Regions from separate parts of the Homo sapiens genome. Here regions 2, 3, 4, 5 and 6 are each linked to region 1. Evidence: promoter capture Hi-C in human tissues and cell types (Jung and others, 2019). All regions are on one chromosome and are shown on one strand. The core of a region is centred on a gene start or on the middle of the fragment in contact, and the rest is flanking DNA. Distances in the headings are between cores, read along the strand shown. Region 1 holds the start of DIS3L2 (DIS3 like 3'-5' exoribonuclease 2). Region 2 overlaps DIS3L2 (DIS3 like 3'-5' exoribonuclease 2). Region 3 overlaps DIS3L2 (DIS3 like 3'-5' exoribonuclease 2). Region 4 overlaps DIS3L2 (DIS3 like 3'-5' exoribonuclease 2). Region 5 overlaps PDE6D (phosphodiesterase 6D). Region 6 overlaps DIS3L2 (DIS3 like 3'-5' exoribonuclease 2).

Region 1 (4,523 bases), core at 1,474-3,973:
CTTTCTTCAATGTAGCAAATTTCACTTGAAATATTTCTCAAACCTCAAACCTAGTCAGTCCCGGGAAGATTTCCTTCTGCAGAAAACTTGTAAGCACAAAAATCTAAGCTACAGAATATACTAACCACACCTCACTCACAACTGGGAAGCAAATTCCCCAGAAAAGGATCAGTTCAAGATGTACAATTAAATGAGTCTCACACCTATAGAACAATGGAACAGAACAGAAAACTCAGAAATAAAGCCACACACCTACAACCATATGATCTTCAACAAACTGACAAAAAACAAATGGAGAAGGGACTCCCTATTCAATAAATGGTGCTGGGATAACTAACTAGCCACATGCAGAAGATATAAAACTGTATATATTTCATGATATACATAATGGGTTAAAGATTTAAATGCAAAGACCTCAGTCAGGCACAGTAGCTCATGCCTGTAATTCCAGCACTTTGGGCAACTGAGGCAGGCAGATCTTTTGAGCCTAGGAGTCAGAGACCAGCCTGACAACATGGTAAAAACCACATCTCCATAAAAAATACAAAAATTAGCCGAACGTGGTAGTGCGCACCTGTAGTCTCAGCTACTCGGGAGGCTGAGGTGGGAGGATCACTTGAGCCTGGGAAATCGAGGCTGCAGTGAGCTGCAGTCACGCTACTGCACTCCAGCCTGGGTGACAGTGAGACCCTGTCTCAAAATAAAATAAAAGACCTCAAGCTATAAAAATCCTAGAAGAAAACCCAGGAAATACACTTCTTGACACTGACCTTGGCAAATTTTTGGCTAAGTCCCCATAAGCAACTGCAGCAAAAACAAAAATTGACAAGTTGGAACTAATTAAACTAGAGCTTCTGCACAGCAAAAGAAATTATCAACAGATTAAACAGACAACCTACAAAATGGGCGAGAATATTCACAAACTATGCATCTGACAAAGGTCCAATATCCAGAATCCCTATGGAACTTAAATCAACAAGCAAAAAACAAATAAGCCCATTTTTAAAAATGGCCAAAGGACATGAACACTTCTCAGAAGAAATACAAAAAGAAAAAACCACGACATACAAGCAGCCAACAAATATATGGAAAACATGATCATGACTAATTATCAGAGAAATGCCAATCAAAACCACAATGAAATACCATCTCACACCAGTCAGAATGGCTATTATCAAAAAGTCAAAAAACAACAGATCCTCATTAGGCTCCCTTGGAAAGGGAACATTTAAACTACTGTTGGTGGGAATGTAAATTAGTTCAGCCACTGTGGAAAGCAGTTTGGAGATTTCTCAAAGAACTTAAAGAGCCACCATTTCACCCAGCAATCCCACTGTTGGGTATATAACCAAAGGAAAACAGACCATTATACCAAAAAGACATATGCAGTTGTATGTTCACGGCTGAGCTATTCACAATAGCAAACACACGGAATCAACCTAGGTGACCATCAATGGTGGACTGGAAAAAAAAAATGTGGATGTACAGGATGGAATACTATGCAGCCACAAAAAAGGAAGATATCATGTCCTTTACAGCAGCACAGATGGAGCTGGAGGCCATAATCCTAAACGAATTAGCACAAGAACAGAAAACTAAACACCACACGTTCTCACTTATAAGTGGGAGCTAAACATTGAGCACACTTACAAGTGGGAGTAGAAACATTGAGCGCACATGGACATAAACATGGGAACAGTCGGCCGGGTGCGGTGGCTCACGCCTGTAATCCTAGCACTTTGGGAGGCCAAGGCGGGCGGATCACGAGGTCAAGAGATCGAGACCATCCTGACTAACATGGTGAAACCCCGTCTCTACTAAAAATACAAAAAAATTAGCCGGGCGGGGTGGCGGGCGCCTGTAGTCCCAGCTACTCGGGAGGCTGAGGCAGAAGAATGGCATGAACCCAGGAGGCGGAGCTTGCAGTGAGCCGAATCGCGCCACTGCACTCCAGCCTGGGCGACAGAATGAGACTCCGTCTCAAAAAAAAAAAAAAAAGGTAACGGTAGACACTGTAGACTACTGGAAGGAGGGGAGAGATGGGGGATGTGGGTTGAAAAACTACCTACTGGGTTCTATGCTCAATACCTGGGTGCAATATACCCATGTGACTAACCTGCATGCGTATCCCCCATATCTAAAAGTTTATTAAAAAAAAAAACTCTCTATGATCAATAAAGGAGATAAAGTGTATCACTGTGGAAAGCGCAAACGTCAAGGACATGTTATAATTAAGCGGCTGCCCTTCAAGATTCCCGAGGCTCCCCATCCCTGCCAGTCCTGAACATCTCGATCAAGACCCTAGAGAACGCGTCCACAGGTGACCCGAGCCTCGGGAGGCGTCCTCTCTACAGCAACAGGCTCTAATTCTGGTCTCGCTCCCCTCACGCCATCCTAGGCTACAAGGGCCCCGGCGCTATAAGCGCGGCCTGGGAGGCCGGGTCGGTCAGGAGCGGAGAGTGGGGAGCTGGGGACATTGAGGGAGATGCGGGACAGGGAAGACGCGTGGGCCGGGGAGCAACGCCAGAGGCGGAAGACGCTCGTCCCGGGCCGCCACCACAGGTGCCGGGCGAAGCGCCGCGGAGCCCCCCAGAGGCCAGACCCCGGGTCGGTCCCGAGGGGGTCGTGCAGCACTAGGCGGTGCAGGGGGCAGGCGAGTGAGGGCCTCACCGTTTCTCCCCGGAGGCCGGCGCCGCCGCAGTCCCGCAGTTGCTAAGGAGAATGCTCTTCCGGGTCACGGGCGCGGCGTTCTAGAGAGCGACGGTGGCCGGGCGAGGCCGAGAGCGAAGCGCGCGGGGTGTGTGCGCGGTGCAGGAGCTCGTAGTCGGCGGTTCAGCTGCGACAAGGGCGAAATGGCCAGGCCAGGGGCCGCCGCGCCTTCTCCGGCCTCGCTCGCGGGGACAACTGGCTGCAACGGTTGGCTCCCAGTGGGCGGCCTCTGAGACGCCTTGTGCCAGGCGCCGGCTGGCTCCGGGCCCCTCTTCCACCGGAAGGAGCCTTCCAGACCCGGCTCCTGAACCTCCAGGCTCTGCTCCACTGGGCCAGGTCTTGCACGGCAGACGCCGCCGGCCCCTTTCCTGTTACAAGGCTTTGCTCATTCTTTCATTTACTCACTGCTCATTTATTGGACAACTGCTTGGGGCGAGGTGCAGTGCTGGCACTGGGGATACAGAGATGGACAACCCCCGCATGGTCCCTGCCCTCAGGATGTGAGGCTGATGGCAGAGCAAGCAGATGACGTCCTGCACGTGGGGATGATCGAAGGAAAGGAGACTAGGGGAGCCTGCCCAAGGGGCCCACCCAGACACGGGTGGGGAGCAGCTGATGTTGGAGACGTCGACCTAGTATAAAGGGTTGGGAAGAGGGTTTCAGGTGAGAGAGGAAGCGCAGCCGAGAAAGCCCCCGACAGTTCAGCCCGCCCAGGGAAGCGTGTTGAGAGGAAACAATCGTTAAGTACGGGACCTAGGAAACACCAATATTGTAGATGTGAGCAAAGGAAAAGGAAATCCAAAGAGCAGCCAGAACGTTCGGGAGAGCACAAGAGGAAAGAATGCCAGTGAGGGGATGGCCGCCATTCTCAAGCTATGGAGATCAAGTGTCCATTGGTGACCATAGAAAAATCAAACTTCCCTTTGGGAGGCCGAGGCGGGCGGATCACCTGAGGTCGGGAGTTCGAGACCAGCCTGATCAACATGGAGAAACCCCGTCCCTATTAAAAATAATAAATTAGCCAGACGTGGTGGCACATGCCTGTAATCCCAGCTACTCAGGAGGCTGAGGCTGGTGAATCGCTTTAACCCCGGAGGCGGAGGTTGCAGTGAGCCGAGATCGCACCATTGCACTCCAGAAAAAAAAAAAGAGAGAGGGAAGGAAAGACGGGAGGGCAGGGCAGGGTAGGGATCAAACTTCGGGAATACAATGTGGACAGATGCTTGAACCACCGTATGCTCCATATTGAAAAAGGAAAAGAGATGCATTAAATTGTGCCTATATTTCTCTTTTTTTTTTTTTTTTTTTTTTTGAGACGGACTATCGCTCTGTCGCCCAGGCTGGAGTGCAATGGTGCGATCTCGGCTCACTGCAACCTCCGCCTCCTGGGTTCAAGCAGTTCTCCTGCCTCAGTCCCGAGTAGCTGGGACTACAGGCGCGTGCCACCACTCTCGGCTAATTTTTGTATTTTTAGTAGAGACGGGGTTTCACCGTGTTAGCCAGGATGGTCTCACTCTTCCGCCCATCTTGTCCCAAAGTGCTGGGATTACAGGTGTGAGTCACCGCACCCGGCCAGTGCGTTGCAGTAGTCTAAGAAAATTCAGGGTTTCCCTTAGTAACTATGAGCTCCATGAAGGTGGAAAACTTTGCATCTGCAGTACCTGCCACACACACAGGCCTCAATCGATGTTTGCTTAAAGACTAAATGAACCCAAGGAACCTTTGTTTTTTAATGTTCACACAGACCTTTCTAGAACCCTCAGGAAAACTGTGATTTCAGCAAAACTTGTCTTTGAAATGTAGAGGGTAGAGGA
Region 2 (4,837 bases), core at 939-3,438, 220 kb before region 1:
TTATTTTTTTAGTAGAGACGAGGTTTCACCATGTTGGTCAGGCAGGTCTCTAACTCCTGGCCTCAAGTGATCCACCCGCCTAGGCCTTCCAAAGTGCTGGGATTACAGGCATAAGCCACCATGCCCAGCCTTGCTCTTCTTTATCTAAATTCCTAAGGTAAAAACATAGCTCACTGCTGAGATCTTTTTTCTTTTTAATGTAAGCACTTGGAGCTATAAATTTTCCTCGGTACTGCTTTAGCGACATCTCACATATTTTAATATGTTGTGCTTTCATTTTCATTCAGTTCTACATATTTTTTAAAAATTTCCTTTAAGATTTCCTCTTTAACCAGTGAATTATTTATAAGTGTGTTGTTTAATTTCCAAGTGTCTAGATATTTTACTATTGTCCTGTTATGGATTTCTAGTTTGTAGTTCCATATGGTCAGAAAACATACCCTATATGACTTCATTTTCACATGAGCTGAAGTTTGTTTGATGACTCAAGATATGGTCTATCTTGGTGAATATTCCATGATCACTTTATTTGGGTCTGGATGCCATGTACTGAGTTAGCACCTAGAAACAGAAAAGTAACACCCAGTCCTTGCTCTTGATGAGAACTTTGCTACCCATCAGAGAGACAGAGTCATATTTAAGTAAATTAGGTACATTATGGCAAGTGAGCAGACTGCCTCGGGAGAACAGAGAAGGGCAAGGCTAATTCTTCTAGAGTGAGAAGACAAAAAATTCACAGCATTCAAGACGGGCCCTGGAAAATGGATGAAGTACAATGCAAGGCATAGGTAAGACAGAGAACTATGACAGAGCAAGACTGAGGAAAGATGAAGGGCTGAAAGCAGAACAGGATATTGTATAAGAAGCTAAGAAATTTATTTTCCTCTTTTCCTATTATCAACAGAGTTGACCATTTCATTTTTGACCTGCCCTAATACGAATGTCAGGCTACCCAACACTACTAATCTTAGGAATAATTTGCCCACACAATTACTGACTACTATATGCTTCTTTTCTTTTTCTTTCTTTTTTTGAGATAGTGTCTTGTTCTGTTTCCCAGGCTGGAGTGCAGTGGCGCGATCACAGCTCACTGCACCCTCAACCTCCTGGGCTCAAGTGATTATCTCACCTCAGCCTCCCTAGTAGTGGGACTACAGGCACATGCCACCACGCCCAGCTAATTTTTGTAATTTTTGTACAGATGGGGTTTTGCTGTGTTGCCCAGGCTAGTCTGGAACTCCTGGACTCAATCAATCCACCCAAAGTACTGGACCTCCCAAAGTACTGGGATTACAGGTATGAGCCACGCACCCGACCTTATTTTCAAATTCTATCTTCCTTTCACTCTTTCTGTTATTTTCCCAGGAAAGCTTGTAGCTTTTCTGCAGGACACTGTCTTCTTTTATCTCCAACTCAAGCAATAAAAGTGAAAAGACTTGAGAGTCACATCAGTGGGACTCGCAAAGTAGAGGCCTCCTCTGAAAAGCTACTACTTCATATAAGTAACAACAACACTGGACAAAACTGTCAAAATCAAATTTAGTGTAACTCTGGAAATTAACCACAGGCTTTTAACAATCTGAGATGCAATTACTCAAGAAAAATGGCTAAATATCAACAAGGACACTGAACTTTGTAAAGTTTTACTTACAAAGTTTACTTTCCATATTCCCACATCCCCCTTTCCAGCTCTATCTCTCTCTCCAGCCTTAAAATCAACAGCATTGTAATCGTGGTGAAAACCAGTGGCCTAGCAGTCACTGGAGTGGCAAGAACAGGTTTACAGCACCCTAAAAACAGCATCACAGGAGAAATGTCATTATTTGACCTATCCAGCAGTTCCCTGAAAACCCCCATTTACCGGGTTTGCTTAATTTGACCTTCATCAAACCTTGTTCACTGCAAACAGCCTTATAGCCCCAGGGGTGTTCATCAAAAACATTCAGCAGTATTTATTTAACATGGCAGCTATCTGAGATGGTGATAACAGTGAGCTAAAGTACTGGTCAACAAGAACTGACCAAAAACATTAAAAGGAAAAGCTGGAGAATGAGGCATCTATAAAGGGCTGTGAAAAGGTCTGACACATTCCTGGGGATAAAGATGGTCACACTCATGCATAGGGCTGTGCACATGCCCAAGAAAGACTTAAGAAGGGTCTTACACTCTTACTTCTGGCTGACCCTGAAGCTCTGCAACAGCAGGAAGTGAAGGCTATGGCAGAGTTGTAAAGTGCATGCCTAAGCATTAAAGGTATTAGTCGACACAGAGCCTCTTAACAAACGCTAAGAGACTTACTGTTTTCAAATATTTAAGGAAATCTCTGTTTATTCATTAGGTGACCACTAAGCTAGCCAAGCAGAGATTTCAGTAGCTTCAAATAACAAAGAATACAAACTGTCTCTGTTTGTTTGAGTTGCTATAACAAAATACTATAAATTGGGTAGCTTATAACGTTTATTTCTCACAGTTTTGGAGAGTGGAAAGTCCAAGATCAAGAAACTAGCAGAATCAATATCTGATGAAGGCCCACTTCCTCATGAATGGCACCTTTTTACTATGTTCTCACATGGTGAAAGGGGTGAGGTTTCTTTCTCATGCTTCTTTTTATAAGGGCACTAATCCCGTTCATGAGGGCTCTACCCTTGACTTAACTGCCTTCCTAAACTATAATTTGGGGGTTAGAGTTTCAACCTACGAACTTAGAGGGAACACAGACATTCAGATCACAGCATAGACTCAAAAGACTTAGTTCAAAAAAGTCAGAAAATGAACAGCAGAAAGAACAAACAGCAATAACAGCAAACCTTGGAAATGAAGGGAGGCAAGATGATTTCCAGAGCTGCCACATTATATTACTATTTAATAGTATTTAATTGTATGTGTGTGTGTGCCTGTGTGTGTATGCATGTGCAGGTGTCATGCAAACAGTAACAAAAGAGAGCTGGAGTAGCCAAACTAATAGCAGACAAAATAGAATTCAAGGCAAAAAGTGTTACTAAAGACAAAGGATAATATTTTATAACAATGATAGGCTCAATCCATCTAGAAAATGAAACAATTATAAACACACATGCATCTAACAACAAAGCCACAAAATACACAAAGCAAAAAATGGCAGAACTTAAGGGAGAAATGTAGAATTCAACTGTAATATATATCAATACACAACATCCAGTAACAGAGATAAAAAATAAACAAAAGATAAACAAGAAAATAGAAAGCTTAAACAAAACTATAAATCAATTAGATCTAACAGATATCTACAGAACACTCACTCCATCCAACAACAGCAGAAAACATATTCTTCTAAAGTGGATATGGAACATTCTCCACACCATATAACAAGTTTCAATAAATATACAAGGACTAAAATCATGCAAAGTATGTTCTCTGACCAAAATAGAATGGAATTAGAAATTAATAGCATAAAGAAATTAGAGAAATTCACAAGTATGTAGAAATTAAACAACCTACTCCTAAATAAAAAATACGTCAAAGAAGAAATCTCAAAGGAAATTTTAAAATATTTAGATATAAATGAAAACAAAATACAACCTATGAAAATTTATGGGATGTAGCTAAAGCAATCAGGGAAGTAGGGAGGGAGTAGCTGTAAATGCCTTTATAAAAAGTACAGTGGCTAATGCCTGTAATCCAGGAGCTCGAGACCACCCTAGGTGACATGATGAAACCTCACTTCTACAAATAAATACAAAAATTAGCCAGGCGCCCGGGCACGGTGGCTCACGCCTGTAATCCCAGCACTTTGGGAGGCTGAGGTGGGCAGATCACCTGAGGTCAGGCGCTCGAGACCAACCTGGCCAACATGGTGAAACCCCATCATTACTAAAAAACAAACAAACAAACAAACAAAAATTAGCTGGGTGTGATGATGCACGCCTGTATCCCAGCTATCTGGAGGTTGACACAGGAGAATCACTTGAACCCAGGAGGTGGAGGTTGCAGTGAGCTGAGATCGCACCACTGCACTCCAGCATGAGTGACAGAGTGAGACATTGTCTCAAAAAATTAAAAAATTAAAAAATTAAAAAAAATAGCCGGGCATGGTGGCCGATGCGATCAACTGGAAGAAAGGCTATCAGCGATGGAAGATGAAGTGAATGAAATGAAGCGAGAAGGGAAGTTTAGAGAAAAAAGAATAAAAAGAAACAAGCAAAGCCTCCAAGAAATATGGGACTATGTGAAAGGACCAAATCTACGTCTCATTGGTGTCACTCTGAAAGTGATGGGGAGAATGGAACCAAGTTGGAAAACACTCTGCAGGATATCATCCAGGAGAACTTCCCCAATCTAGCAAGGCAGCCCAACATTCAGATTCAGGAAATACAGAGAACGCCACAAAGATACTCCTCGAGAAGAGCAACTCCAAGACACATAATTGTCAGATTCGCCAAAGTAGAAATGAAGGAAAAAATGTTAAGGGCAGCCAGAGAGAAAGGTCAGGTTACCCACAAAGGGAAGCCCATCAGACTAACAGCGGATCTCTCGGCAGAAACCCTACAAGCCAGAAGAGAGTGGGGGCCAATATTCAACATTCTTAAAGAAAAGAATTTTCAACCCAGAATTTCATATCCAGCCAAACTAAGCTTCATAAGTGAAGGAGAAATAAAATACTTTATAGACAAGCAAATGCTGAGAGATTTTGTCACCACCAGGCCTGCCCTAAAAGAGCTCCTGAAGGAAGCGCTAAACATGGAAAGGAACAACCGGTACCAGCCGCTGCAAAATCATGCCAAAATGTAAAGACCATCGAGACTAGGAAGAAACTGCATCAACTAACGAGCAAAATCACCAGCTAACATCATAATGACAG
Region 3 (4,391 bases), core at 502-3,001, 200 kb before region 1:
AACTTCTGAAGAGAAATCAGAGAAATCCACGCCATACTCTGTTAGTATTCCTTCTGTTTCAGGCTCAATTTCACCAGCCTGCCCAAGACTCTTAGCCAGCTGCCTATGGATAGAACAGAAACGGAATAACTGGGTTAGCAAACAAATGGAACATAGGTACCTGTCTCCTCTCTAAAAGTAAAGTAGTGGGAAAGTTTAAAATCTCCTGCCCTTCCACCAGTAGAAACATGATCATCCGTAAATCACTGGCAATGGGAAAGCAGAAGACACAGTAATGCTCTTCTCCTGTTAAATCGGTAACTACAGTGTAATTTCACCTTTTTTTATTTGACATTCTGACTTGAGAAACAGAGCCAGAAGGCTTTCCTTAGGACCCCTCCAATTGTTCTTCACAGAGAAGTCAAAATTGATATTATGATCAATCCAGTGTGCTATTAAATCATTAGTTTCAGAGTGCCTGTACGTTAAGTCATGCTTACTAGATTAATTCTGATGTTCCTATTTCACAACTCTACCAGTTTTTAATCTTTAAAATTTTAAAATATTTTATCTAAACACAAAAGTAATATACGTTCATTGCAAAGAAGTTAGAAAACACAAAATCCACTGAGAAGAAAATTAAAATTATCCATAAACCAGTCACCCATGCACATTTTAGGGCACTGGCCCATTAAAAATAAAATTGCATTTAACAGGACAATGCTAACATTATGAACAGGGTTCCACCTTTCAGAAGGCAGATCTCACTCCTTACCAAATTGACAGCTCTCTATTCTCATAAGCATTGTCATGCCACATACAGATCACAAGTCTAAATTTGTGCGTTGAATACAGGCAGCCAACAGGAAATGTGTTATGGGCCTTGGCTGCCTTTGTAGAGGGTATTGCGGAGACCAAAAATGGCCATCTCCTCTGTTGTACAAGTCTACTTATCTACCAGGGTGCTCCAAGAGTCCGCCCTCAGCACTTTCTGCAAGAAATTTAGCTATGGCATCAGGACATTCTCTCAGGCTATTCGATTTCTATGAAAAAGGTTCTGTTTCCTAAATAAGGGTAGATGCTTGGCTGCTGGAGTTCTTATGTGCACAGTGGTAAAGAGGAATAGGGGAGGTGGTTGCCTCATAAGCAGACTTTTAACAAATTCCAATCTTCAGCCTTGCCACTGGAATGCAGCAGTGATGGCAGCAGGGCTGGCCCCATTTCTCACACTAGTCAAGAGAGACCAGCCCAGTCTACTTGTGCACCCGCCCACCAGCCTATGATCTCGGCAGCCTGCAGACTGACCTGTGGGCTCCTCCCATATGATGTGGACTCAGAAGAGTACTTTCTCCACAAATGGGTGGTCTCTCCCATAAAACACATCAAAAAGCCAGACAGCAAAAATATGAGAGAAAAATTAACAGAAAGCAATCTGGAAAATCCCCAAATATGTGGAAATCCAACAACCCATAGGTTAAAGAAGAAATAAAAAAAGAATTAGAAAATATTTTGGACCAGGTGCAGTGGCTCACGCCTGTAATCCTAGCACTTTGGGAGGCTGAGGCAGGCGGATCACAAGGTCAGGAGATCGAGACCATCCTGGCCAACATGGTGAAACCCCGTCTCTATCAAAAATACAAAAATTAGCTGGGCGTGGTGATGCGTGCCTATAATCCCAGCTACTCAGGAGACTGAAGCAGGAGAATCCCTTGAACCAGAGAGTCAGAGGTTGCGGTGAGCCGAGATCATGCCAGTGCACTCCAACCTGGTGACAGAGTGAGACTGTCTCCAAAAAAAAAAAAATTGAACTGGGGTCAGGCACGGTGGCTCACATCTGTAATCCCATCACTTTGGGAGGCCAAGGCGGGTGGATCACTTGAGGCTAGGAGTTTGAGACCAGCCTGGCCAACGTGGTGAAACCCCGTTTCTACTAAAAATACAAAACTTAGCTGGGTGTGGTGGTACACACCTGTAATTCCAGCTATTCGGGTGGCTGAGGCAAAGGAATCACTTAAATCCAGGAAATGGAGGTTGCAGCGAGCCAAGATGGCATTACTGCACTGCAGGCTGGGCGACAGAGCGAGATGCTATCTCAAAAAAGAAAGGAAAGGAAGTAATGGAGAGAGGGAGGAAGGGAATTTTGAATTGAATGAAAACATAACATGTCAACATTTGTGAGAAGTAGCTAAAATAGTGGTTGGAGGGTAATTTACAGCATTAAATGCTCACATCGGAAAGGAAGAAAAGTGTCAAATCAGTGATCTAAGCTTCTACGTTAAAAAACTGAAGAACAAATTAGATTCCAGGTAAGGAGAAGGACAGAAATAATGAAGAAACAAGAATCAATGAATAGAAAATGAACAAATAGGCTGGGCGCGGTGGCTCACGCCTGTAATCCCAGCACTTTGGGAGGCCAAGGCAGGAGGATCATGAGGTCAAGAGATTGAGACCATCCTGGTCAACATGGTGAAACCCCGTCTCCACTAAAAATACAAAAATTAGCTGGGCGTGATGGTGCATGCCCGCAGTCCCAGCTACTCTGGAGGCTTAGACAGGAGAAACGCTTGAACCCGGGAGGCGGAGGTTGCGGTGAGCCGAGATCACGCCACTGTACTCCAGCCTGGGCAACAGAGTGAGAGTCTGTCTCAAAAAAACAAACAAACAAACAAACAAAAATGAATGAATAATGAAAACAAATCAATAAAACAAAAAACTAATTCTATTTTTTAGACAGGGTCTCACTCTGTCACCCAGGCAGAAGTGCAGTGGCACAATCATGGCCCACTGCAGCCTCGACTTCCCAGGCTCAAGCAATACTCCCACCTCAGCCTCCTGAGTAGCTGAGGCCCATCTAATTTTTGTATTTTTTGTAGAGATGGGGTTTTGCCACGTCGCCCAGGCTGGGACTCGAACTCCTGAGCTCAAGCAATCTGCCCACCTCGGCCTCCCAAAGTGCTGGGATTACAGCTTTGAGCCACCACACCTGGCTCAAAAGCTAATTCTTTGAAAAGAGAAAAACAGATAAATTTCTAGCCTGACTGATCAAGAAAAACAAGGAGGGAAAAACACAAATTACCAATATCAAGAATGAGAGAGGAGACACCATTTTACATCCCACAAGCATTAAAAGGATAAGGGAATAATGAATGACTTTAAGACAATAAATTCAACATCTTGGATGAAATGGGCAAATTCCTTGAAAGATGCAAACTGCCTAGGATAATTAAAATAAATTGATACTTGAATATTCCTATTTAATCTACCTATTATCTATTTTATCTAATGTATCTATTAAAGAAACTGAATTCACAGTTTGAAACCTTCCCACATAGAAAACTCCAGACCCAGATGGCTTCACTGGTGAATTCTACCAAGTATTTAAGAAAGAATTATTGCCAATTCTACATAAACTCTTCTAGAATAAAGAGGTAGATGGCATACTTTCCAACTAGTTTAATGAAGACAGCAGTACCTTGATATCAAAACCAAAGGATTAATGAGATCAATACCTCTCATAGACTTAAAATTCTTACAAAGGTATATCAGTTATTGAAAAAGAAAATTTAAAACTTCTTACAAGGTCATTAGCAAATAGAATTCAGTAATATATAAAAAAGGTGATACATCATGACCAAATAATGCAAGATTTGTCCAACAATGAAACATCAATCAATACAACATATTAACAAACAAAAAACAAACACATATAATCATCTCAGTAAATGAAGAAAAAGCATTTGACAAAATTTCAACATTCACTTAAGATAAAAGCCCTCAGCACATGAGTAACAGGAATTTCTTCAACTTGGTTAAAGGCCTCTATGAGAATCCTAGCACTAATGTAAAACTTAGTGGTGAAAAGTGAAATGCTTTCCCTTGGAGCAGAAAGAAGACAAAGTGTTCATTTTCACCAATACTATTTAACATTGTACTGGAGGTACTAGTGAATGCCATAAAGTAAGAAAAAGAAGGGGCATACAAACTGGAAAGGAAGAATTGCACGTTGCCTATAAGCAGGACAAAGGACTACAATTCCCGTCATGGAAGTGACCAGCTTCCTACTACATAATGCCTGGCCTCTCTTTATACAAGCCTCCTCTCACTCTGTGAGAACCAAAATCCAGTACACTGTGTGTGACTTAAACTCTGCCTCAACTCAAGACTTTGAATGTGTAGACAGAAACACAAAGACAAAAGGCTGCTTAGGATTCACTCATGACAGCTAGAATGGCTTCTCGTGATAGCAGCGGTGGCAGCAGCATCCAGTGAAAATGGTGTCCTGCAAGAGTGGTGGTAAGAGAATAACTGGCATTACAGCCAAACTAATCCTGATAAAAGATGATGGTTGGGCTTCTTGTTCTTGGCTTTCCAGAGCTGCCTTAGTTCACATCCCTTTTCAGGTCATTCAAGTC
Region 4 (4,755 bases), core at 1,689-4,188, 170 kb before region 1:
TTTAAAGTTTTTTTTTTTTAATTCACTTTTTATGATTCTCTGCTCTAACTTTTCTGATTAAATGACCAAATACAGTCCTGACTGAATCACACGAGATCTTCAACAAGTAGCTCAGGTGAAAGCCATTTGGACACGTGGAGAAAATCTGTAGGCAATGACCTTTGCTGATCTTTGCAGGGATTTCTCCGATAAAGCTCTTGTGTCTTGTGAAATGCAGGTGGTCTCATCTTTTGTAACCGGTGCATCACCATCCTCTCTTCCTACATTAAAAAGATAAAGAGAGAAGAGGAGTCATCAACCAGATGCATATCAATTAGTGGGATTTTAAAATTCAATCTAGAAAGATGCCTGGATACCAGTTACCCCAAACTACTCACTTTACAGAAGAACCCCAGGCCGCCAGTGGACCTGTCACATACCAGTATTATACTCAGGCTGAGCACTCAGCCTCAGCAGACCACATTTTATCTACTTAACATTATTCACATACTATCATAAATATCATACAACTGGAGAGCATCAAACTATGTTGAATTAAACTAAATAGCCTGTGTGTCGAAATTCCAAAAAACTAGATGTTAAATGCTGCCCCAGCCCAAAATGAAGAATAGAGATAGGTTAATTTATTATGCACATCTGCTGAAATAAAACAAAATCATAATAAATGTTAACTTTTAAAAGTACTTTGGTACCAGCCATAACAAACAAAATGGTGGAAAATAGATTATATTTATTAAATAAATAAATTTAAAAACCCAACCCTGATTTTCCTGGCTTTTTCTTAGTGACATTATATAAAGAGTAAAGTACTTAAAGTCTTTTAATGTTTAATTTCCTTTCTTAAAAAACTTACAAAACGCACATTCACCCAAGAAACTGAAACCACATCTCCTGAGGAAAGAGGCAGTTAGGCTCTCTACCAGAAGTATTAAAAACACTCATGAACAAAAGCAGCAAATTACACACTTCTAAACATTTAAAATTTTGAATCTTTACTTGTTACATTAGATTTCCCCACAAAATATTCTTATCCAACTATGTTAGGGATTCTGGATTCTAGGGGTCACAACCAATTTACGTGGGAGCCTCTCCAGAGAGCTAAGAGAAACTTGCACTTATCATCATTTAGATGTTGCCAAGGCCAAAGTAAATAAATCAATCCTTTTCAGGACTGGCTGCCTTTTAGCAAAAACTCAGCTTAAAGCCAACTTTTACCATTCTGGGCGTACTCTGGAAACACTGACATGATCTGACCTACCGGGGTTTAAGAATGATCAACTGTTTGCTTTTCCATCTATGCTGAAATCTACCTACTGAAGTGCCCTCTGAATGCAGAATCCTCATTGTTTTCCAAAAAGTAAAAGCAAACACAAACTTTCCTATCGTAGATTGCCCTCTCTATCAGTGAAAGAGGACATCAGCAAGGTTCAACTTTTCTTTTAAACCCATAATTCAGGATTCCAAAATCATCAAATGCTTTTAGAACATTTTTTATAATTGTAGAGAGAAAAAAAACCACACAAGTTGTTGATCTGTTTGTTCCATAACATACCTCACCAATGTGCTCTGCAGAACAAAGTAACTGAGGAAAAAAATCAAAGCGTGGAATTACCATGAATAAGTATCCTCTACTTAGATATTTGACAACTAGTTTGGTCTCAAATGCTACCAATCAAGACACTGCAGTGAGAGGACTGGGTTTCCAAGGCAGCCTAAATCCTGGGCAAACAGCTTTCTGTGATGATCACTGATGGCTCCATCTTCAAATGACTGTTACCTCAGATTCCATCCCAACAACAGCAAGTCGGCTGTTCAAAATGTTATACCAAATTACATCTTAAGAGAGAGGGCAAGCCATAGAAGTGGGCCCAATCATGATTTTCTATCAGACCTGAACATGACCTTTTCAGGTTCTATATTCAGAAGGATATCCTGGCAGAAATGAGGCTTTGTTCAGACAAAGTTACATTCTAATAAATTAAACCAAGGTTTAAAGCCTTACAGGTGAGAATCACAGATAACAGTCAATGGATATAAAGAAACACAATGCCAGGTTGAAAAGGTGAATCACCTTAATACATTTCCAACAACCATGTCTTGCCACACTGAATAGTAAAGTTGTCGGCTGGTCTTGGGTGGCTCATGCCTGTAATCCCAGTGCTTTGGGAGGCCAGGGCAGAAGGATCACTAGAGCTTTGGAGTTCAAGACCAGCCTGGGCAACACGGCGAAACTCTGTCTCTACTAAAAATATAAAATTTAGTTGGGCATGGTAGTGCTCGCCTATAGTCCCAGCTACTCAGGAGGCTGAGGTGGGAAGATCACCTGAGCCTGGGAATTCAAGGCTGCAGTGAGCCAAGATTGCACCACTGCACTCCAGCCTGCAAGAACCTGTCTCTCCAAAAAAAAAAAAAAAAAAAAAAAAAAAATTAGCAAAGTTGTCAATTTAATGAGACTCTACTACATTGTTTAATCACAAGATCAGTTATTATTCATTTATTCCATGTGTATTTATTGAACACATTAATGCACTGAAGATCCAGTGTTAAAAGAAATATGATCCCAGCCCTATAGACTAATGTGGGAATATCATATAAATAATCACTCAATAAATATAAAATTATAGGGTGGGCATGTTGGCTCACGCCTGTAATCCCAGCACTTCAGGAGGCTGAAGTGGGAGGATCACTTCAACCCAGGAGTTCAAGATCAGCCTGGGCAACATGGCAAAACCCTGTCTCTACAAAAAATACAAAAAAAAAATCCACCAGGTGTGATGGTGTACACCTGTGGTCCCAGCTACCTGAGAGGTTCACGTGGGAGGATCACTTGAGCCCAGGAAGTGGAGGCTGCAGTGAATCAGGATCGTGCCACCGCACTCCAGCCTTGGCGACGCAGTGAGCCCCTGTCTCAAAAAAAATAAAAACTGTAATAAATGCTAAGAAGGAAAGAATAATCCCAAAAAGAAGGGGGAAAGGACATATGATTTAGATTAGAGATCAGGGAAAGAATTTAAATTGAGACATAAGGACAGTGTATACAGGAGTGAAGAGGAGAATGAGAGACCCAAGATAGGAATGGCACACAGGAAAGGGTAAAGGCAGGAAGTTCTTCACACAATCAAGGACCAGAACAAAGACCATGAGGCATGGCTGGAGCACAGTGAGCAAGAATGGGCATGGCTAGAGATGAGAATGAGAGGTAGATAGGTGCCAAGTCAGGTGTGGGCCTTGCAGAACATAAGAAGCCAGAATTTAAGTACAACGGCAAGATGGGTAAGGATTCTGTGCAAGACAGCAACATTGCCCAGGGCAAGATAAGAGCAGGCTAAGAGTGGGTGTAGGGAGACCAGTTAAAAGCTACTGCAATAGTCAAGGCATGAGAGGCTGGAGCTGTGATGCAGGCATTGGAGATGGAATTAAGATATATTTTGGAGTTGAATAGTCTTGGTGATAATTACATATGAGAGCTTAAGGATTATCAGCTAAGAGAAGTCAAGGATTATTTCCAGCTTTCTGACACTAGCAATTAGGTTGATAGTGGCATCACTTATGGCACAGGAAAGACAAGAGGAAGGGGTAAAGATCAATAATTCTATTTCGGAGGTGGTTCTATTTGATAGGTCACATATGAGACTTTTAAGTGAAGAAACTGAGTAAGCAATTCAAAATGAAGGTCTGGAACTCAGAAAACAGACCTGGGCTGTAGCTTTACAAACAGTTTATATGCTGAGAAACTTTCCAGCCCAAGCTGGAGAGAGGATATTGAAATGCAAGTCCATGCAACCCCTAAATCCATGAAACTCTTCCAGTGCACCACACTGCTATACACAAAAGTAAGGGATAATGTTCTGTCACTGTTAATGAAGAAAATTCACTGAGGAAGTGAGTTGAGCCTTGAAGGATATATAGATATAGATGTTCCAAAGAGAAATAAGGAAGTTGAAGGCCACTCCAGACAAAGGCCAGAACTTGTGAAAGACCTAGATCTGTGAGTGGACCTGCCATGGTAAAGGCCCAGTAAAAGATTTACTGTAGCTATTAACAGGTTGGGGACACAGTGCTGGGTAGGGAGGAACTAGAATAGGGGGGAAATAACGCTGGTAGAATGGCCCTGTGGGAGGGACTAGTCACTGCCCAATTATCCAGCCTCTTCTTTCCTAGTAAAAAGAACTCCAATTTTTAGCTGGGCATACTGCCACCTAGTTAAAAGGCCACATCCCTCAGCCACATCCCTGCATGTCTACATTTTAGGCAACAAGATTCTGGGGAAAGTGTGTTGTTAGTGACTTCCAGGAGTAACCTTACAAGGCAGAGGCCCAGCCTTCTCTCTCTTCTCAATCCTGCGGGCTGGAATGTGGATTTGATAGCTGGACCTTGATCGCTCATCCTGGTCCTGGAGGCCAGAGGTCAAGGGTGTTTTCTACTCTGCAGAGCAGTACAACAGAATGAGCTGAAGACTGTGGAGCTATCCTACAAGTCTTGGCCTGCCTGTCTCTGATCTTCTTCTACGTGAGATAGAAATTAACTTCTTTCTTGTTTAAGCCACTGATATTTTAGGATTTAATGCTATTCTCTACGGAATATACTTTCTAACATACAGGCCCAGACAATGAAACTGACAAGCTAGGACACTATCCTATAAAGCATTATAAATGCCAGGGCAATTCTTCTCTTAAGAGCTATATATCACACATGTATTTTAGAGCTATGAATTTGATAGAACCCTGGAATGAAGAGACAATGGTAGCAGAGATC
Region 5 (4,690 bases), core at 895-3,394, 190 kb after region 1:
GATTACAGGTGCATGCCACCATGCCCAGCTAATTTTTGTATTTTTAATAGAGATGGGGTTTCACCATGTTGGCCAAGCTGTTCTCAAACACCTGACCTCATGATCTGCCTGCCTCTGCCTCCCAAAGTGCTGGGATTACAGGCATGAGCCACCGTGCCTGGCCTCAAATTTATTAATATTTGCCATCTGGCTTTTGCATTTTGTATCTTGTTTAAAAAGATCTTTCTTATCCCAAGATTAACTAAATATCCTATCTTTTCTTCTCTTTTCAATGTTTAGCTCTTTAATCCACCTGGAACGTATTTACACATTTGGTATGTGGTAGACATCTAAGTACTTCTGCTGTTTGGATAGCCAATAGTTCCAGTACTATTTACTAAGTAGTTAGTCCATCTTTTCCTCACTGTTTTGAAATGCCATCCTTGTCATATACTAAATTTTCATAAGACATAGGTTTTTTTTTGGATTATTTCTGTTTCATTGATCTATTTGTCTCTTCTTGTACCTATACACATTTGATTGAATTATTATAGCTTTATAATATGATTTAGTATAGTTTACAATAGAATGGTCTGTGACTAACATAATATGTGTGTTTAAGGTCCCTACAAATATGTGCCCCTTTTGTTCACATGGAAGCTTGCCCATATGCCCATAGTAGATAGAAACATGAGGACTTGGCTGGGCATGGTGACTCACACCTGTAATCCCAGCACTTTGGGAGGCCTAGGTGGGAGGATTGCTCAAGGCCAGGAGTTCAAGACCAACCTGGCCAACATAGCGAGACCCCCAACTCTAAAAAAAAAAAATTTAAAGATACTGCATAAAAGTGAATACTGTATGCATAAATTAGGCATGGTCTGAGTGAATTCAGTAGAAGCTTTGTATTTGCCATCAGTTGTTTCAAAAACAAAATCTTATAAGATTTTATTCTTGTATCACCTTCACCCCATCTCACCCTACCTCTTTCAGAGTATCTGTTTTTGTGAGAAGAGTTTATCACTACAAAAAGAGCACCATTATGATCTCCTGCCAACAGTGTTGATAGTACTCAGTTTTCCACGTTGACTAGGTCAATCTTTTTTATTTTTGCCAGTTTGGACAACACATTGTTTCGATTTGTATTTTCCTGGATCCCTAGATCCATACAAGGTAATATAGCATAGTGGTTAAGAGCTATACTGGACTGTGGCGCTATACTACCTCTCAAGAAATGCAAGGCTCTCATACACATTAAGAACCTTGCATTTCTTTCTTGTTTGTTAAAAGCATAACATTTCCTAATTGTAAATTAATGTTATGAATGAAATGTTACTTGGGGAACAATATGATTCTCCTGCAAATATTTTGGATTTGATTATTTTAAGCAGCTGACATAGAGATTGATGTTTGTAAATCCCACGTTTCCCATTTCGTTCCTTCAACAAAGGTCTGTTGGGTGACTATTATGTATAGGGCACTCTACACTTGAAGGATACAAAAATGAATAACTTACAGTCCCTTCTTTCCAGAAGCTTAACCAGCTTTATGTCTGTTTAGAAGGAATATCTTCAAAAGCAATGCATTTTTTAAAATTCTATTTAATTTTCCTATTACAAACGCCAGCCACCTAGAGTGACCTTTGTAAATATTATTTAATATAGCCTTCTAATGTAGCTAATGTTTAATGTGTTTTTTATAAAAATGGAATTGTAAATATCACTTTGTAACTTACTTTGTTCACTTAATAATAGATTTACCATGTTTATGATTTCCAAAGATAGTTACTTTCAGTTGCTTTCACTGACAGATTTGTCACAGTACTCTTTTTTTTTTTTTTTTTTTTTTGAGACGGAGTCTTGCTCTTGTCACCCCGGCTGGAGTGCAGTGATGTGATCTCAACTCACTGCAACCTCTACCTCCGGAGTTCAAGCGATTCTCCTGCCTCAGCCTCCCAAGTAGCTGGGATTACAGGCACCTGCCACCACGCCCGGCTAATTTTTGTATTTTTAGTAGAGAGGGGGTTTCGCCATGTTGGCCAGGCTGGTCTCGAACTCCTGACCTCAGGCCTCCCAAAGTGCTGGGATTACAGGCGTGAGCCACTGCACCTAGCATTTGTCACAGTACTCTTATACTAGCTTTCTAGTATAGTCTGTATCTACTGTTTTGCCTATTTGAATAGCTTTTTCATCAACATAAAAATATAACTTTATTAAATTAACAAGAAACTGACAGACTTCCATAAGAATGAATTATGCTTTTATGATTTCATTATCTTTAATCCATCTGAATTTTCTTTGGTATAAGATACAGAGTAGTAATGTAGCTTTTTTTTAATATTGGCTTATTGTCTCCATTTATTTATTTAATTCATTTATACGTCAGATATTATAATATCCAGAATATAAATGGCTGCCTACAAATCAATAGGATAAGCATTTAACTCAAAGTGGACAAAGGATATGAACAAGCAGTTCCTAGAAGAAAAAGCAGATGACCAATGAATAAATGAGGACATGCTCAACCTTGTTAAAATAATAGACTATCTTCCGGGTGCAGGGGCTCATGCCTGTAATCCCAGCACTTTGGGAGGCCAAGGTGGGTGGATTGCTTGAGCCTAGAAGTTTGAGACCAGCCTAGGCAACATGGCAAGACCCCGCCTCTACAAAAAAAAAAAAAAAACACACACAAAAATTAGCCAGGTGTGGTGGTGCATGCTTGTGGTCCCAGCTACTGGGAGGCTGAGGTGAGGGGATCACCTGAGCCTGGGAGGTGGAGGTCGCAGTGAGCCAAGACTGTGCCCCACTGCATTCCAACCAGGGTAACAGAGTGAGACCCTGTCAATAATAATAATAATGGACTATCTCTTCCCAATTAATTGACACAGATTTAAAAGATTGATAATATATATGTATATCCTGAAAGTGGCACTGTACGAAAATAAAATTAAAAATTAGGCCAGGCACAGTGGTTCACGCCTGTAATCCCAACACTTTGGGAGACCAAGGTGGGCAGATCACTTGAGGCCAAGAGTTTGAGACCAGCCTGCCCAACATAGCAAAACTCCCTCTCTATTAAAAATACAAAAAATTAGCCAAACTTGGTGGCACACGCCTGTAATCCCAGCTGCTCAAGAGGCAGAGGCAGGACAATTGCTTGAACCCAGGAGGCAGAGGTTGCAGTGAGCTGAGATCACACCACTGCACTCCAGCCTGGGCTACAGAGTGAGACTCTGTCTCAAAAAAAATAAAAATAAAAATTTATTAAAAAAAAAAAAGATGCCAGGCACAGTGGCTCATGCCTGTAATGCCAGCACTTTGGGAGGCCAAGGTGGGCGGATTACTTGAGGTCAGGGATTCGAGGCCAGCCTGGCCAACATGGTGAAACCCCGTCTCTACTAAAAATACAAAAATTAGCTGGGCATGGTGTGGACAGCTGTAATCCCAGCTATTATTAGGGTGCCTGAGGCAGAAGAATCACTTGAACCTGGGAGGCCAAGGTTGCAATGAGCCGAGATTGCACCACTGCACTCCAGCCTGGGTGACAGAGAGAGACTCAGTCTCAAAAAAAAAAAAAGATAATATTCAGTGTTCACAACATTGAGGGAAAGGGGCACTCTCATTTGGTTTATGTGTGTGTGTGTAGTGTCTGTAGAAAGTAATTGGTATCTATCAAATGTTTACACATTACTGCAGTAGAGTATATAGCACAGTGGTTGAGAGTATGGGCTCACTTCCAAGGTTTAGACTTACTGCCTCTGCTATTGTGACTCTCAACAGAACACTCAGACTCTGAGCCTCAGCATCTGTATCTCATATTATCAGAGGGTTGTTTTGAGAATTAAATGAAACTGCATAAAAGATGTTTGGTTCAGGGCCTGGCATATAGTAATATCTGCTGCCATTCATTTTATTAATAATTACTAATAATAATGACAGGCCAGGTATAGTGGTTCATGCCTGTAATCCCAGCTCTTTGGGAGGCCGAGGTGGGTGGATCACCTGAGTTTGGGCATTCAAGACCAGCCTGGCCAACATGGTGAAATCCCGTCTCTACTAAAAATACAAAATTAGTCAGGCGTAGTGGTGTGCACCTGTAATCCCAGCTACTCGGGAGGCTGAGGCAGGAGAATTGCTTGAACCCAGGAGGTGGAGGTTGCAGTGAGCCGAGATCACGCCAGTGCACTCCAGCCTGGGTAACAGAGTGAGACTCCATCTCAATAATAATAATAATAATAATGACAATAGTGTTAATATGATTGTAAAGCTACTTATTTCTCTGAGATATAACTAATGCCTTCATTCTAGTTATATTTTCTTACTGAAAAACTATCGTATTTCCATTTTGCCTCTGAATAAATGATTCAATAAGCATTGATATATACCTCATGTTTATCTTGTCTAGAAAATGAATCTCATTCTAATTTATGGCAGGTTAGCAAAAAGAGTTTGGGCTCAGAAGGTTTCTGAAAGCATCTTTCACTTGTTTTCTTACATTTCTTCTCCCATAGTTTGGTCCTGGAATCCCTGTATCTTCTTTCTCATAGTACCTTAATCCTTGACTTTGCTTCCAATCAAAAAACAGTTGGCTTTACATCTTCTATTTACTCACTTAGAATAAAGAATAAGAATAGTAGACATATTAAGAAAAGTCGACTGTAGAACTTCTCTTGAAAGTCAGTATTCCCTGGTACAGTTGCCTTGGCCAAATG
Region 6 (4,585 bases), core at 210-2,709, 140 kb before region 1:
TCTGACAGTCTCTTAAAAGAACTCTCAGAATCCAGGAGTTACTCAAGGAATTAATTTGACAGTAATGACTCATGAAACTGCATTTCCAGTTCACAGACCTCTATCATGAACTTCAGTCTGTATTTCTAATTAAATATGACCATCTCACATTTACCATATCTAAAAGAAATTCCTTGGTAATAAAAACAGTAGAAATTATTTATAATAAACAAAAATGGCAGAAATCTATTTCCATTAAAAATTAAACAGATTAAGTCACTAGCTAGTGTTAAAAAAAGGTGGTGGGGGGGGACCTGAAAGGGGTTATGATCACAGATACAGATGAAACTAAACAACTGAAAATACTTCATATAGCTCTATTCTAATACATTACAGTATGTGCTCAAAATGTATTATTTTCCTGGAAAATATAATTATCAAAATACATGCAAAGAAAATTTAAAGAAATCAATAATCACCGGAGATTGAGAAAGTTGCCAACTAAAGAAAGCTCTAGCCCATGTTTCAAGTATGAGTTCTTCAATTGCTTCAATCATTGAGAATATGTGATCACTCTCAACGCTATTGTAACTATTCCAAGGCAATGAGAAAAGCTCCCCAATTCTTCCTACCAAGTTACGAAAACAAGAAGAAACTGCAGACTAATGTCACTTTTTATTGTAAATCCAAAAATCATGAATAAATTAGCAAACACAACTGAATTACATGTTAATGCATGCTACATACCATGACTAAATGAAGGTCATGGTCAGATGAGGAATGCAAGAATTATTCAATATTATATGTCATCATGTTAACAAGCCAAAGGGAAAAACAGCATCTTGAAAGAGGCTCAAAAGGCACTTGAGGAGAATTCAATATCTATTCCCAACAGAAACTTTTAATATAAAAGAGGACATTTGGTTAACTTGGTCTCAAGCCAATAACCAGCATTGTGCTTGAGGGTTTAATATTGGAAGCATTCCCATTAAAGTCTGGAACAAGACAATCACCACTATTATGCAACACAGTTCTTAAAGTAATGGCCAATGAAATAAGGTAATAAATAAAAGGTACAAAATTAGAAAGGAAAAGACAAAATTATTTTACACCTAGAAAATCAAAACAACCAACTACAAAATTATTAGAAATAATCAGAACATTCAAGCAAATGAACGTTTCACTTTTACAAAAGTCATTCTGTTTGACTTTTACAGGAGGTTCATAAAAACAATCATGTTTACAAAATTACTTGAAGGCTTCATTAATTTTCACAAGAATTTCTCTTAATCCACTGTTAACTCAAATAAGTTAAAAATCTTTACTCAAGATTTTTATTTTACTACCACCTTGTGTGACACACTGGCATTTTTAATGGGAAATAAAATTGTGACTGGCCGAATAAAAGTAATTTTTAGAAAAAAGACCCAGCTGAAAACAGCAGTCCTGACTATATTTGTATTGAATAAGCAATTATTATTTTATGCTTTAGAGTTACTTCAGGGCCAAAGATGGGATGAGCAATGCCAGCTCTTGAAATCCACACCGAACTGTAGAACATAGCAATTTTTCTCTTTCACCCAATGTTTTATTTTAAAGATTTTTAAATTTACTAAAAAGCTGAAACAGTGATATTATGAACACCTATTGATTCACCAATTAACATATTGCTACATTTGCACCCATTCTCTCTTGATTTGTATATGCACGTGTGTTTGCACACACACACAACCACATAGTTTCGTTTCTTCTTTTTTCTGAACCATTCAAAATAAATTAAAGACATCAGGATACTTCACCCCAACCATGTTAGCCAGTATCTCCTAAAAATAAGGACATTCTCCTATATCTCTGCAATATCATTATCGCACCTAAGAAAATTAATGGTAATTCCAAAATGTCACCTAATATCCACTCTAAATTTAAATCTCCCCAATTGTTGCTACCATATTATTTCCCCAACCCAGGTTCTAACCAAGCTTCACACAATATTTTTAGTTATGTCTCTCTTGCTTTTTGTTTCACTAGAACAACTCCCCTTGCTTTTCATGGCATTGGATTTAATCTTATTATTTCTCCCTTGGTGTCATTTAACTTATTCCAATATCCCCTGTATTTCCAGTAGACTGGAAGTTAGGGCTAGAGGCTTGATTCCGGTGAAACATTTTTAGCATGAATGCTTCACAGACAATGATATTCAATAATGCATCCCATCAGAAGGTACAAAATGTCAGACTATCCCAATTAATGATGCTAAGCTTGATCAGTTGGTTAAACTGGTGACCACCAAATATGTCCACTATAAAAGGACATTCTGCCCAGTGTAATTAATTAGTAAGTCAACTGTGGCATGATACTTTGAGTCCATGTGAATATCTTGGTCCCCAAAACCTTTATCTCAATAGTTTTAGTATCCAGCAATGATTCTTGATTGAATTATTAAACTCAGGGTTAGAGAACTATGAATGTTTAACCTGTATTGTATATATTGCTATTTATTAGGGGAGAAAGAATGTAATAGTTGGGAGGACAAGCCTAGGGCTGATTCTACAGCAGCAATGCTGAGTATGTAGCAGAATCCTTGAATCTCTAAAGAGCTCTTTCAAAATACCAATGCTTAGCCCTATTCCAGATCAATTAGAATGATCTTAAAGTATACTTACCAACTGCATAACTTTTCTGCATCTTGGGAATAAAAACTACTGGAATTCCTGAGATAGATACTATTTATATTCCTAAAATAGACACTATACTAGGTATGTTCTAAGGATTAACTAATGTAATGAGAATTAATTACAAAGTGCTTAGAAAGGGCCTAGCACATTGTAAATGTTCACTAAATACTGATGATAAATATGGGTACAAATAGTTATCCACATATATGGATATGCATGTATACAAAAAATACATCTAGGTATATTCTAGCATACACATATGTATATAACAACACAACTTCAAAATATATCAAGCTACAATTGACAAGACTGTAGGAAATACAAATAAATCAAAATGTAAGAAATACAAATACATCAAAATTTACAGACACAGATTTTTAAATGGAAGGTATATCTTTTTTTTTTTTTTCACTCTATCACCCAGGCTGGAGTGCAGTGGTATGAATCTTGGCTCACTGCAACCTCTGCCTCCCGGGTTCAAGTGATTCTCCTGCCTCAGCCTCCTGAGTAGCTAGGGCAACAGGGGTGCACCACCACGCCTAATTTTTGTATTTTTAGTAGAGACGGGGTTTCACCACGTTGTCCAGGCTGGTCTCAAACTCCTGACCTCAACTGATCCGCCCACCTCGGCCTCCCAAAGTGCTGGCATTACAGGCGTGAGCCACCACACCCAGCCCCCAGACATAAATTTTTAAAGATCCCTCTCAGAAACTGACAGATAAAGTACACACAATAATAAACAGCTTACTATGAAGGGAAGAACAATATAATTATAAATCAAATTTGTGGAGATATATATACACACACACACACACACACACACACCTTTCTTTCAAAGCATATGTGTAATATTTAAAAATATAGACAATATAATAAACTATAATGGAACTATCCATAAACTATAAAGAATTAAATATACAGACATCCTATACTCTGACAATAAAATTAAACATTAACAAAAAATAGCAAAATACAGAATTAAATAGCCTTAATAAATAACCTAGTTACAAAAGAAATCACAAAGAAAAGAAAACATTTAAAAGTGAATAATAATAAAAACACTGGACATAAAAATCTGTAGAATAGAGCTAAAGAAGTATTTAGAGGTACATATGTAGCTTTAAAAACAGTTCAAAGAAAACAAGAAAAGTTAAAATTAATAAGCTAAGTACTCAACTCAAGAATTTGGGGAAAGGGCAAAAAAGCAACATCCCTGGAAAATAAGAAATTAAATTAAAAAGTTAAGGGCAAATATCAAAGATACACAAAACATCAACAATAGAGGAAAAAAAAGGCCAGGTGTGGTGGCTCACGCCTGTAATCCCAACCCTTTGGAAGGCCAAGGTGGGCAGATCACTTCAGGTCAGGAGTTCGAGACCAGCCTGGCCAACATGGTGAAACCTTGGCTCTACCACAAAAAAAAAAAAAAAAAAAAAATATTAGCAGGGCATGGTGGCAGGCACCTGTAATCCCAGCTAGTCAGGAGGCTGAGGCAGGGCCCAGCAGGCAGAGGTTGCAGTGAGCCGAGATCACGCAATTGCACTCCAGCCTGGGCAACAGAGCAAGACTGTCTCAAAAAATAAAAATAAAAAATAGAGAAAAATAACACAACCAAAATTGTTCTTTGAAAAGATTAATAAGATAAGACCCTTGATGAGCAAGAGTTATCAAAGAAAAAAGAAGATTCAAATAATTAAAATATAGAATGAAAAGGAATACAAAAGTACAGACACAAAGGAGATTTTTGAAATGATAACAGAATATAACGAGCATTAGGAATATCTACATGCTAATAAAGTTGAATGGATAAATTCCCATTAAATTATGCCAAAACTGGCACAAGAACTGATAGAGAATCTGAACAGACCAATTAGTATAATAGGGATTAAAACAGCAAAGATCTTGCCTTCTGAAAAACAGCAGGTACAATT

Evidence for each region. Contacts are between HindIII fragments. The study calls those that stand out against the background at their distance.
Region 2: a fragment that was not itself captured here is called in contact with the fragment with the promoter of DIS3L2 in region 1 in 4 of the 25 tissues and cell types used here (IMR-90 fibroblasts, liver, mesenchymal stem cells and 1 more).
Region 3: a contact is called between a fragment that was not itself captured here and the fragment with the promoter of DIS3L2 in region 1, in 5 of the 25 tissues and cell types used here (IMR-90 fibroblasts, dorsolateral prefrontal cortex, liver and 2 more).
Region 4: a contact is called between a fragment that was not itself captured here and the fragment with the promoter of DIS3L2 in region 1, in 1 of the 25 tissues and cell types used here (IMR-90 fibroblasts).
Region 5: a contact is called between a fragment that was not itself captured here and the fragment with the promoter of DIS3L2 in region 1, in 1 of the 25 tissues and cell types used here (spleen).
Region 6: a fragment that was not itself captured here is called in contact with the fragment with the promoter of DIS3L2 in region 1 in 2 of the 25 tissues and cell types used here (IMR-90 fibroblasts and mesenchymal stem cells).

The regions. Positions count from the first base shown.
Region 1 is chr2:231,959,913-231,964,435 of GRCh38, reverse strand. It overlaps DIS3L2 (DIS3 like 3'-5' exoribonuclease 2), which reads right to left and starts at 2,723. Exons shown (of 21, transcript NM_152383.5): 1 at 2,671-2,723. RefSeq lists a silencer at 2,466-2,625 and an enhancer at 2,756-2,845. The HindIII fragment of the contact is 18,963 bases long and covers 1-4,523 here.
Region 2 is chr2:232,180,846-232,185,682 of GRCh38, reverse strand. All of the region lies in intron 9 of DIS3L2 (DIS3 like 3'-5' exoribonuclease 2), which reads right to left. Among named protein-coding and RNA genes, the nearest start is that of MIR562, 11 kb to the right of the region's middle. The HindIII fragment of the contact is 3,458 bases long and covers 460-3,917 here.
Region 3 is chr2:232,159,171-232,163,561 of GRCh38, reverse strand. It overlaps DIS3L2 (DIS3 like 3'-5' exoribonuclease 2), which reads right to left. Exons shown (of 21, transcript NM_152383.5): 9 at 1-103. Among named protein-coding and RNA genes, the nearest start is that of MIR562, 11 kb to the left of the region's middle. The HindIII fragment of the contact is 8,631 bases long and covers 1-4,391 here.
Region 4 is chr2:232,126,124-232,130,878 of GRCh38, reverse strand. It overlaps DIS3L2 (DIS3 like 3'-5' exoribonuclease 2), which reads right to left. Exons shown (of 21, transcript NM_152383.5): 7 at 160-260. Among named protein-coding and RNA genes, the nearest start is that of MIR562, 44 kb to the left of the region's middle. The HindIII fragment of the contact is 8,059 bases long and covers 1-4,755 here.
Region 5 is chr2:231,773,459-231,778,148 of GRCh38, reverse strand. The region is part of intron 1 of PDE6D (phosphodiesterase 6D); the gene reads left to right. Among named protein-coding and RNA genes, the nearest start is that of PDE6D, 5.5 kb to the left of the region's middle. The HindIII fragment of the contact is 7,341 bases long and covers 1-4,690 here.
Region 6 is chr2:232,099,699-232,104,283 of GRCh38, reverse strand. The region is part of intron 6 of DIS3L2 (DIS3 like 3'-5' exoribonuclease 2); the gene reads right to left. Among named protein-coding and RNA genes, the nearest start is that of MIR562, 71 kb to the left of the region's middle. The HindIII fragment of the contact is 5,354 bases long and covers 1-4,136 here.